Linked DNA regions of Homo sapiens: region 1 is linked to region 2. The links are contacts of gene promoters, found by promoter capture Hi-C in blood cells and fetal thymus (Javierre and others, 2016). All regions are on one chromosome and are shown on one strand. The core of a region is centred on a gene start or on the middle of the fragment in contact, and the rest is flanking DNA. Distances in the headings are between cores, read along the strand shown.

What was found. The method cuts DNA at HindIII sites, captures the fragments that hold promoters and counts their contacts. A CHiCAGO score of 5 or more calls a contact.
Region 1: a contact is called between a fragment that was not itself captured here and the fragment with the promoter of IL10 in region 2, in 1 of 17 cell types (endothelial precursors). The highest score is 6.8, in endothelial precursors.

The regions. Positions count from the first base shown.
Region 1 is chr1:207,484,492-207,490,454 of GRCh38, reverse strand. It overlaps CR2 (complement C3d receptor 2), which reads right to left. Exons shown (of 20, transcript NM_001006658.3): 19 at 4,883-4,991; 20 at 563-1,313. The coding sequence ends at 4,901. Among named protein-coding and RNA genes, the nearest start is that of CR1, 8.7 kb to the left of the region's middle. The HindIII fragment of the contact is 1,036 bases long and covers 3,926-4,961 here.
Region 2 is chr1:206,771,244-206,774,826 of GRCh38, reverse strand. It overlaps IL10 (interleukin 10), which reads left to right and starts at 2,333. Exons shown (of 5, transcript NM_000572.3): 1 at 2,333-2,556; 2 at 3,412-3,471. The coding sequence starts at 2,392. All of the region lies in intron 1 of IL19 (interleukin 19), which reads right to left. RefSeq lists cis regulatory regions at 2,083-2,622, 2,083-2,704. The HindIII fragment of the contact is 1,546 bases long and covers 1,622-3,167 here.

The DNA.
Region 1 (5,963 bases), core at 3,194-5,693, 710 kb before region 2:
CCAGGGACTGAAGGGATGGGGGAATGTGGAGTTACTATATAATGGATATAGAATCTTGGTTTTATAAGAGAAAAAGAGTTGTGGAGATCTGCTCTACAACAATGTGAATGTACCTAACTCTACCGAACTGTACCCTTAAAAATGGTGAAGATGGTAAATTTTATGTGTTTTTAATCACAATTTTAAAAAACAGAAAAAAAACAGATGCTGAACAGCATACCTAGTCTAGGGGAAGGTACAGAGTAAATTTGTGGTCACCAGTGAGCAAGGTTTTATTTTCTCAATAGTTTAAATGTTGGAACAGAGAAAATTAACAGCTATATCTATATCAAGGGTGTGGTGGGAGAGGATGAGTGAGCCGGAGAAGGTATTGGCTGGACAAATATAAGAGAAAGTCTTGAGGGTGAGGAAATTGAATTTGTGGGTTAAAAGTTTGGCTAAAACGACCAAGTGATGGGATCCTGAATGAATAACTGTTAAATCGTGGACTTTAAAGCCCTAAGACTCTCTGTTATCGAAGAGTTCATTGACTCCAAAAAAAAACAAAATAAGGCAAGTGTTGTATGTTTTCTTTACAATTACAATTTATTGAATGACTAATGTACACATTATTAAGTGAAATTTTACAAGCAACTAGAACTTATCACAAAACTGCTAAAGAAACATCCAAAGCCTGAATTGTACACCAAATCTCTAGGATTAAATCTTGATTCCCATAATTTAAAAAAACTTGTGCAAATTGCAATCACTGAGTGATTATGGAAAGGCAAAGTATATACAGTAATGTGAGAGAAACTCAAACCAAGTAAGGGTAAAAATGAAATGATTAACACCACCAGAGGAGGAAGCTACTATCAAAATAAAACCATACTTCCTAATAAAGGTAAAGCCATCATAACCCCAGAAAATGCTTCATACTTTAGATAATTAAAAACACATTATAACCAAAAGCAGATAGTAACATTGAGTATGCTGATTTCAAAAAGAAGATGGGTCTAGATACCAGGACAGCTCTTTTTAGTGCCTTCCTTAAAAAGGGCAAAACTTTTTAGAGCCATGTAATTGTTTATAGCCATGGCCTGGCTTCAGGCATCTCATAAGTGAGGCTTCAGAAAGTCCTTGAAGAGTATATGGCAGTGAAACTGGGCTCCCATCTTTACCATAAAGATGTTCTTCTTGAGAATAAGTGCATATAGGAAGTGATCGCTTATGACATCATTTCATTGATCTTGAGGCCATATAAAGAGACTTGCTGATATTAGAGCAGTTTCTTTCTAATCAATATTCCGCTGAATTCCAAGCAATGAGGCACACTGAAATAGATCATTTCTGTTTAGGAGGCAGCATGAATAGCAGCGGTGCAACTCGAAGTTTAAATAATGCTAACATTCTCTTTACATACCAGTTACAGCTGGTATAACCAACAAAGCATCAAGTCTATTAGAAGATATCATTCTATTGAAAGGCCTTTCTTCATATAACATGCTCTGGAACAAATAACTACATTTTATATACATTCATATAAACATGAATTAAACTAAATGAGAAATGAAAGTACTAATCTTTCTCATTCATAAACTCATTCAACAAATATTTATGAGCTAGGTGTACTCTGTACCTCAACTGGTTTGGATTTAGAGGTCACTAGTATGGTCCCCCTGTCAGGACTCACCAGCAGCAGGTTACCTTTTCTTCCTCAACTGCCATCACAGATTTTCTATACCTTGTTTATGGTATGTATTATTACCTATGATATTTATGGGTCTTATTTATCTTATTAAAATAAGTTCCAAGAGGACAGAGGTGGTATATTTTTTATTTTATTTTATTTTGAGATGGAGTCTCGCTCTGTCAGCAGGCTGGAGTGCAGTGGCGTGATCTCAGCTCACTGCAACCTCCAACTCCCTGGTTCAAGCAATTCTCCTGCCTCAGCCTCCCGAGTAGCTGGGATTACAGGCACGTGCCATCAAACCCAGCTAATTTTTGTATTTTTAGTAGAGACGGGGTTTCACCATGTTGGCCAAGATGTTCTCGATCTCCTGAACTCGTGATCTGCCTGCCTTGGCCTCCCAAAGTGCTGGGTTTACAGACGTGAGCCACCACTCCTGGCTGGTATCTTTATTTTCTAGATTATGTAGGAGAAAGCAGTTTAAACTCAGGCATGAGCTTGCATTCCACCTTTGCCAATGATTGACCCTGAGACCTTGCCCAAGGTTTTCTTGGATATTATTTCTTCATCTTGATATTATCTTGGGAGAACACCCACCTTTCAAAGTGGTACTGATGGCTAAGTAAGAGAAGGCATGAAAGACTGTCACATAATCCCCGGACAGAGTAAACCTTCAAATGTTCATCCCCACTTTCTCATGGGAAACTCAGGTGCACATCTCATGTGGCCTGTCGGCCTTTCTGTACTCCCTATAATTCAGTCTTCAGTTCTTAGTTGATGATTTAATGCCTTCCTTTTTCTTCTTAACTCTCTAATACCTCCTTTCTGAGCCTCACTCTCACCTGAATAATTTGCTTTCTATTCACTGAGAAGACTGAATCATCGGAAGAGAACTTCCACACGTTCACTCCCCATCACAGCTCCCAACCTGCCTTCATCTGCACCTGCAGATTCTGCCCTCCCTCCTGTTACTAAGCCCACGCAGCTAGGAGCTCCTCTGCTTAATCTGTTCCTCCTAGCTTACCCAGACCTTGTTCGAGCAATTCTTCTCTCTCTTTCTGCCATCACTCTTTCCCTTTCTACTAAATTATTCCCATCATCATGTAGGAATAGGGCATAACTGCTATTTCTCCAATCTTAAAAAATATTTCTGTTGACTTTATGTTTTACTCTTACTAGCACTTTACTTATTTGCTCCTTTTTATAGAAAAAAACCTAGAAAGAGTTGTCTGTATTTGATAGCTGCAATTTCTCTCCTTTCATTCTCTCTTAAGCTCCGTCCAGTCAGGCTCCTGCCTCCTTCCTCTCTTCAAAAACTGTCTTGTCAAGTTCAGCAGCAAATTTTGTGCTGCTTGCCTATAATCCCAGCTACTCAGGAGACTGAGGCATGAGAATCACTTGAACCTAGGAAGTAGAGGCTGCAGTGAGCTGAGATCACACCACTGCACTCCAGCCTGGGCGACAGAGTGAGACCCTGTCTCAAACAACAACAGCAAAAAAATTGTGCTACTGAATTTCAATGGTCAGTTTTCAGGGCTCATTTTTTTGGCCTACCAGCAACACTGGACAGAGTTGATCACTCCCTCCTCCCTAAAATTCTTTCTTTGCCTGACTTTAAGGTTCTTCTCTGGATAGTATCAGAGGCTGCTCCTTCACTTCTTAGTGGGTGCCTTCTCACTCCATGACTTCTAATGTTGGAGGATCCAGGGCTCAGTACTTGGACCTTTTCTTTTTGCTAGCCTCTTTCACTTCTCGGAGATCTTATTCAGTCTCCTTGTTATGTACAACCACATGATGACAAAGCCCAAATTTTTATCTCCAGCCTGGACCAATTGCCCAAAATACAGACTTGTACATCAGCTGTCTTCTTGCCAAGTCTATTAGACATCCACATTTAACATCTCCACAGTGGAACTCCTGATTTTTCTCCCCAGTCCTGCTCTTTGCAATCTCAATCATGTAATTAATGGCAGTTCTATCCTTCCAGTTGCTTAGGCAAAAGCCCTCGTGTCATTATTGACAGCTCTCTTCCTCTCATATTCTGATACAAACTATCCACGAATCCTACTGTCACTGTCTTAAAATTGCATGCAGAATCTGGCCTCTTCTTACAACCTGGTGGTAGCCACTGACAATTTCTTGCCTGGATGATTGCAGCAGCCTCCTCATTGACTCCCATCTTCCACCCATGGCTTCCTACAGTCTGTTCTTAACACAGCAGTTAAGGTGAATGTGTTGCTCCTCTCCTTAAAAGCTTCCAAATAAAAACCAATCTCTTTACCATGACCTAGCACACTTTATACAATCATCCTCTCCTGCCCACCATCCCATTACAATGACATAGCAGACTTTGTACGATCATCCTCTCGCCCACATCCCACCCCCATCTCTGTGACTTCATCTCTACAACTGTAGGCCACACTGGCCTCCTTGCTGTGCCGCCAACACAGCTGGCACACACTGCCTTATGGCCTTTGCACCTACTGTTCTTTCTGGAATCCTCCTCCCTCATATGGCCACATGGCTGGCTTTTTTTTTTTTTTTTTTTTTTTTTTGAGATGCAGTCTTGCTCTGTTGTCCAGGCTGGGGTACAGTGGCGCAGTCTTGGCTCACTGCAACCTCCGCCTCCTAGGCTCAAGTGATTCTCCTGCCTCAGCCTCCCGAGTAGCTGGGACCACAGGTGCACACCACCACGCTTGGCTAATTTTTGTATTTTTAGTAGAGACAGGGTTTTACCATGTTGAACAGAGTGGTCTCGAACTCTTGACCTCAAATGATCTGCCTGCCTCAGCCTCCCAAAGTGCTGGGATTACAGGCGTGAGCCACCAAGGCCGGCCCTGGCTCTTTACTTCCCTTGAGTTTTTTCTCAAATGACATTCTCTTAGTAAGAGCTTCCCTTGCGACCACCCTGTTCTCTTTATCCCCCTTGCCTGCTTTATTATGTCTCTATATAATGCTTATCATCTTATTGATTTTATTCTTAGTTGTTTTGCTATTTAGTTTAATATTTGTTGAATGGATGAATGGATTAAAAAATTGGAACATTAGTTGGCAAAATGAAGTAGGTAAATGAACAATTGCTATGCATGATTACTGAAGACTTGTGCAATAGTAAGAAGCATGTATATACACCGTGAATGCTACGCTTATTGATAAATACAAGTTGAAGGAAATTTTATATGTAAATTAATAATATTCCATTTCATTACATACCACCAGTTTGTCTTCTGATCAGCTGGCTGGGTTGTATGGATCAACAGAATATACTTCTCGTGCTTCTAAATGAAAAGCTTCTTTCTGGCTTGTATCTGTATAATAATTGCTAAACAGAAGAAGAAAGAAAAATGTAATATCTTTACTCATTGACCATGTTTCAATGTAGCAGTTGTTTGCTTTCCATAATTCCCAACACATGGTAAGTACTTTTGTGGATGATTTCATTTTTTTAAATTATACTTTAAGTTCTGGGATACATGTGCAGAATGTGCAGGTTTGTTACATAGGTATACATGTGCCACGGTGGTTTGCTGCACCCAACAACCCGTCATCTACATTAGGTATTTCTCCTAATACTATCCCTCCCCTAACCCCCAACCCTGTGAAAGGTCCCAGTGTATGATGTTTCCCTCCCTGTGCCCACATGTTCTCATTGTTCAACTTTCATTTACAAGTGAGAACATACGGTGTTTGGTTTTCTGTGATGATTTCATTTTTATTGTTTTTATCCTATGAAGTGTAAACACTGTAACTCCATTTTTTGGAAAGGCACATAAAAAATGAATGATCTAGGCTTGTAAGTGTTCAAGTCAGAGGCTGACACTAAGCAGCTTTACCCTAGGATCCAGGACGCTTAATGACTAACAACTACAACTTCCAAATTGAAGAAAAGAAGCAAAAATAAGTTCTTATTTTAGATCATAACTTTACCCTTTTGGGACTCAATGTTCTAGTCTGACTTAAAAGCTTTAAACGAGTTTGAAGAGAATGTTTTTACTTTCCTTCTTTGAAAGTACACATATTTCATTGTGCTTCTAAAACCACTTTGCCAGAATTACTAAAAGACAATAAAATGTGATTATACTACCATGTAAAGCTCTAAAATAACATAATACAAAATTACTGGGGAAGAAAGAATACTGCTAAAGACACTGACAGCATGTCACTCACTAGAATATTGAAGAGTTCCGTGTACAGGAGATATGTTAAGAAGATTATAAAACAGTAATTTTTAGGTCAATGTGAGATTTAAGCTTTGTTACAATATCTTAGATGACTAGAAAAGAATAGCATAGTG
Region 2 (3,583 bases), core at 1,084-3,583:
CCTCGCACCCTCCAGGCTTACAGGGCACTCTTCTATGCCCATCCCAAGTATAGCTGATACCTTCCAAGGGCCAGACTTGGTGCTAAGTACCAAGTACGCAAAGATTAATAAAACAATGTCCTGTTTCAGGGAGCTCAAAGCTGATTCGGCAGGGCATGGTGTGTACATGAATGATAACCACGTAGGGTTGCAGGTTTCCTAGTGAGGTAAGCACAAGGCAAGATGGGAAACAAAGGAAGGAGGGGTTCACAGCCTCACCCAGAGTCCAGAACCCCTGGCCTGCCTGGTGCCCATGCTGAGTCCACTTCTGGAACACCCAGCTCAGAGAGGGGGTTAGACCTGCAGGCTAACACAGACACAGCCCAGAAAACCCAGGAGCCGAGGGGGAAGGAGAAAGGTGCAAGAAGGGGAAACCCAGGTCCTGGTCCCCTTCTCTCTGCTTCCTGGCAGCAGAACTCAGACAGAACCCTTAAGCCAGTCTAAGTCTGGCAGGACCAGTAAGTTCTGAGTTAGCTCCATACTAGTTTCTAGCAGGCTCTTTCTCACTTCCTGATTCTTAGGTTTCTACATTGACACTCCCTGAAGAGTTGGGAAGAGACACCACAGTCCCCTGACCCTGATCCATAGGTCACACAGCAGGGACATCCACAGGGTGGGCGTGGGCCCTCTCATCCCTCCCTCCCACTCACTTCACGCTGGCTGGGCCCCAAGGTGTTTGCACCCCTTGCAGTGAGTGACCTTCTCTAGTGCAGCAAGCTCAGAACCTGCTGCCACTGGAGTTGTCCCATTGCTGATGCAGAAAGGTGAAGAACTAGCAGAACACTGGAAATGCCCTCCATCTGGGTCCATGGCTACTTAAGCTCAATGCTCCCTGGCAGGCAGGAGGACAGGTGCTATTGCCCTGTTGGGACAGATGAAAAACAGACACAGGGAGGATGAGTGATTTGCCCTGACTATAGAGTGGCAGGGCCAAGGCAGAGCCCAGGCCTCCTGCACCTAGGTCAGTGTTCCTCCCAGTTACAGTCTAAACTGGAATGGCAGGCAAAGCCCCTGTGGAAGGGGAAGGTGAAGGCTCAATCAAAGGATCCCCAGAGACTTTCCAGATATCTGAAGAAGTCCTGATGTCACTGCCCCGGTCCTTCCCCAGGTAGAGCAACACTCCTCGCCGCAACCCAACTGGCTCCCCTTACCTTCTACACACACACACACACACACACACACACACACACACACACACACAAATCCAAGACAACACTACTAAGGCTTCTTTGGGAAGGGGAAGTAGGGATAGGTAAGAGGAAAGTAAGGGACCTCCTATCCAGCCTCCATGGAATCCTGACTTCTTTTCCTTGTTATTTCAACTTCTTCCACCCCATCTTTTAAACTTTAGACTCCAGCCACAGAAGCTTACAACTAAAAGAAACTCTAAGGCCAATTTAATCCAAGGTTTCATTCTATGTGCTGGAGATGGTGTACAGTAGGGTGAGGAAACCAAATTCTCAGTTGGCACTGGTGTACCCTTGTACAGGTGATGTAATATCTCTGTGCCTCAGTTTGCTCACTATAAAATAGAGACGGTAGGGGTCATGGTGAGCACTACCTGACTAGCATATAAGAAGCTTTCAGCAAGTGCAGACTACTCTTACCCACTTCCCCCAAGCACAGTTGGGGTGGGGGACAGCTGAAGAGGTGGAAACATGTGCCTGAGAATCCTAATGAAATCGGGGTAAAGGAGCCTGGAACACATCCTGTGACCCCGCCTGTACTGTAGGAAGCCAGTCTCTGGAAAGTAAAATGGAAGGGCTGCTTGGGAACTTTGAGGATATTTAGCCCACCCCCTCATTTTTACTTGGGGAAACTAAGGCCCAGAGACCTAAGGTGACTGCCTAAGTTAGCAAGGAGAAGTCTTGGGTATTCATCCCAGGTTGGGGGGACCCAATTATTTCTCAATCCCATTGTATTCTGGAATGGGCAATTTGTCCACGTCACTGTGACCTAGGAACACGCGAATGAGAACCCACAGCTGAGGGCCTCTGCGCACAGAACAGCTGTTCTCCCCAGGAAATCAACTTTTTTTAATTGAGAAGCTAAAAAATTATTCTAAGAGAGGTAGCCCATCCTAAAAATAGCTGTAATGCAGAAGTTCATGTTCAACCAATCATTTTTGCTTACGATGCAAAAATTGAAAACTAAGTTTATTAGAGAGGTTAGAGAAGGAGGAGCTCTAAGCAGAAAAAATCCTGTGCCGGGAAACCTTGATTGTGGCTTTTTAATGAATGAAGAGGCCTCCCTGAGCTTACAATATAAAAGGGGGACAGAGAGGTGAAGGTCTACACATCAGGGGCTTGCTCTTGCAAAACCAAACCACAAGACAGACTTGCAAAAGAAGGCATGCACAGCTCAGCACTGCTCTGTTGCCTGGTCCTCCTGACTGGGGTGAGGGCCAGCCCAGGCCAGGGCACCCAGTCTGAGAACAGCTGCACCCACTTCCCAGGCAACCTGCCTAACATGCTTCGAGATCTCCGAGATGCCTTCAGCAGAGTGAAGACTTTCTTTGTGAGTATGATTCCTTCCTGTCCTTTCTCTCTTCCTGGGACTGCCTGAACTAGACATTCTCCTGGAACTATAAGAACCCTCCTCCTGCGCCTCCACCTCCATCCCCAACACCTATTCCCCCAAACTTAAATTCTTAAGAGAATCCTAGATCAAGCCATGGGTTTGGTGAGTTAAGCTAAGCCAGATGATACAGTAAATGTGCAGGAAACCTGCCTTATAAAGTAAATGCGTTCTCTCTCGTGCTGAGAAACTTATAAGATCCTGCTGGCGCTCTATACTTTATTGGCTAGGAGAAGTAAAGAAATGTCTGATTCGAGGTGAAGATGCTCCCCATGCCTTGCAGCAGGGAAATTTAAATTGCCTCTGCTTAGAGCGTTTCCAGACCTGAAAGACCAGTGGTTTAGGGAAGCACTCTACATGAGGGAAACCTGCATTAGAAGGAGCTTCTTAATCCCTGGGATCTTTCCAAGCTAAACTGGATGTCTACAGTGGGGAGAAAGAAAAGCAGAGAACAGGACATGAGGGGGGCTCAAGGCCCCGAAGGGTTGACATAGGTGTCCCTTAAAGCCGAATGTAGCTCCGCAGAAAGAAGACCAGGACTGAGTCAAGCTTCTGCTTTCCCTTCAAAATCGGCCAGATTTTTTAAATAACTTGACTCTGAGGAGGAGGACCTGATTTAAGTGATGGTCCCATCACTGTTGAATCCTCTGTTTTTAAAACTCCCCTTTTGATTTTTTTGGGCCAGAGCCAATTTTATTTAAAAAAAAAAATCTCTAAATGAAAGGGCATCAAAAAGACCGCATTTCAGTTATTTCCCCAAACCTCAAGTTCATTCTCCTTTTGTTCTTCCTGCAGCAAATGAAGGATCAGCTGGACAACTTGTTGTTAAAGGAGTCCTTGCTGGAGGACTTTAAGGTGAGAGCAGGGGCGGGGTGCTGGGGGAGTGTGCAGCATGATTAAGGGAAGGGAGACTCTGCTTCCTGATTGCAGGGAATTGGGTTTGTTTCCTTCGCTTTGAAAAGGAGAA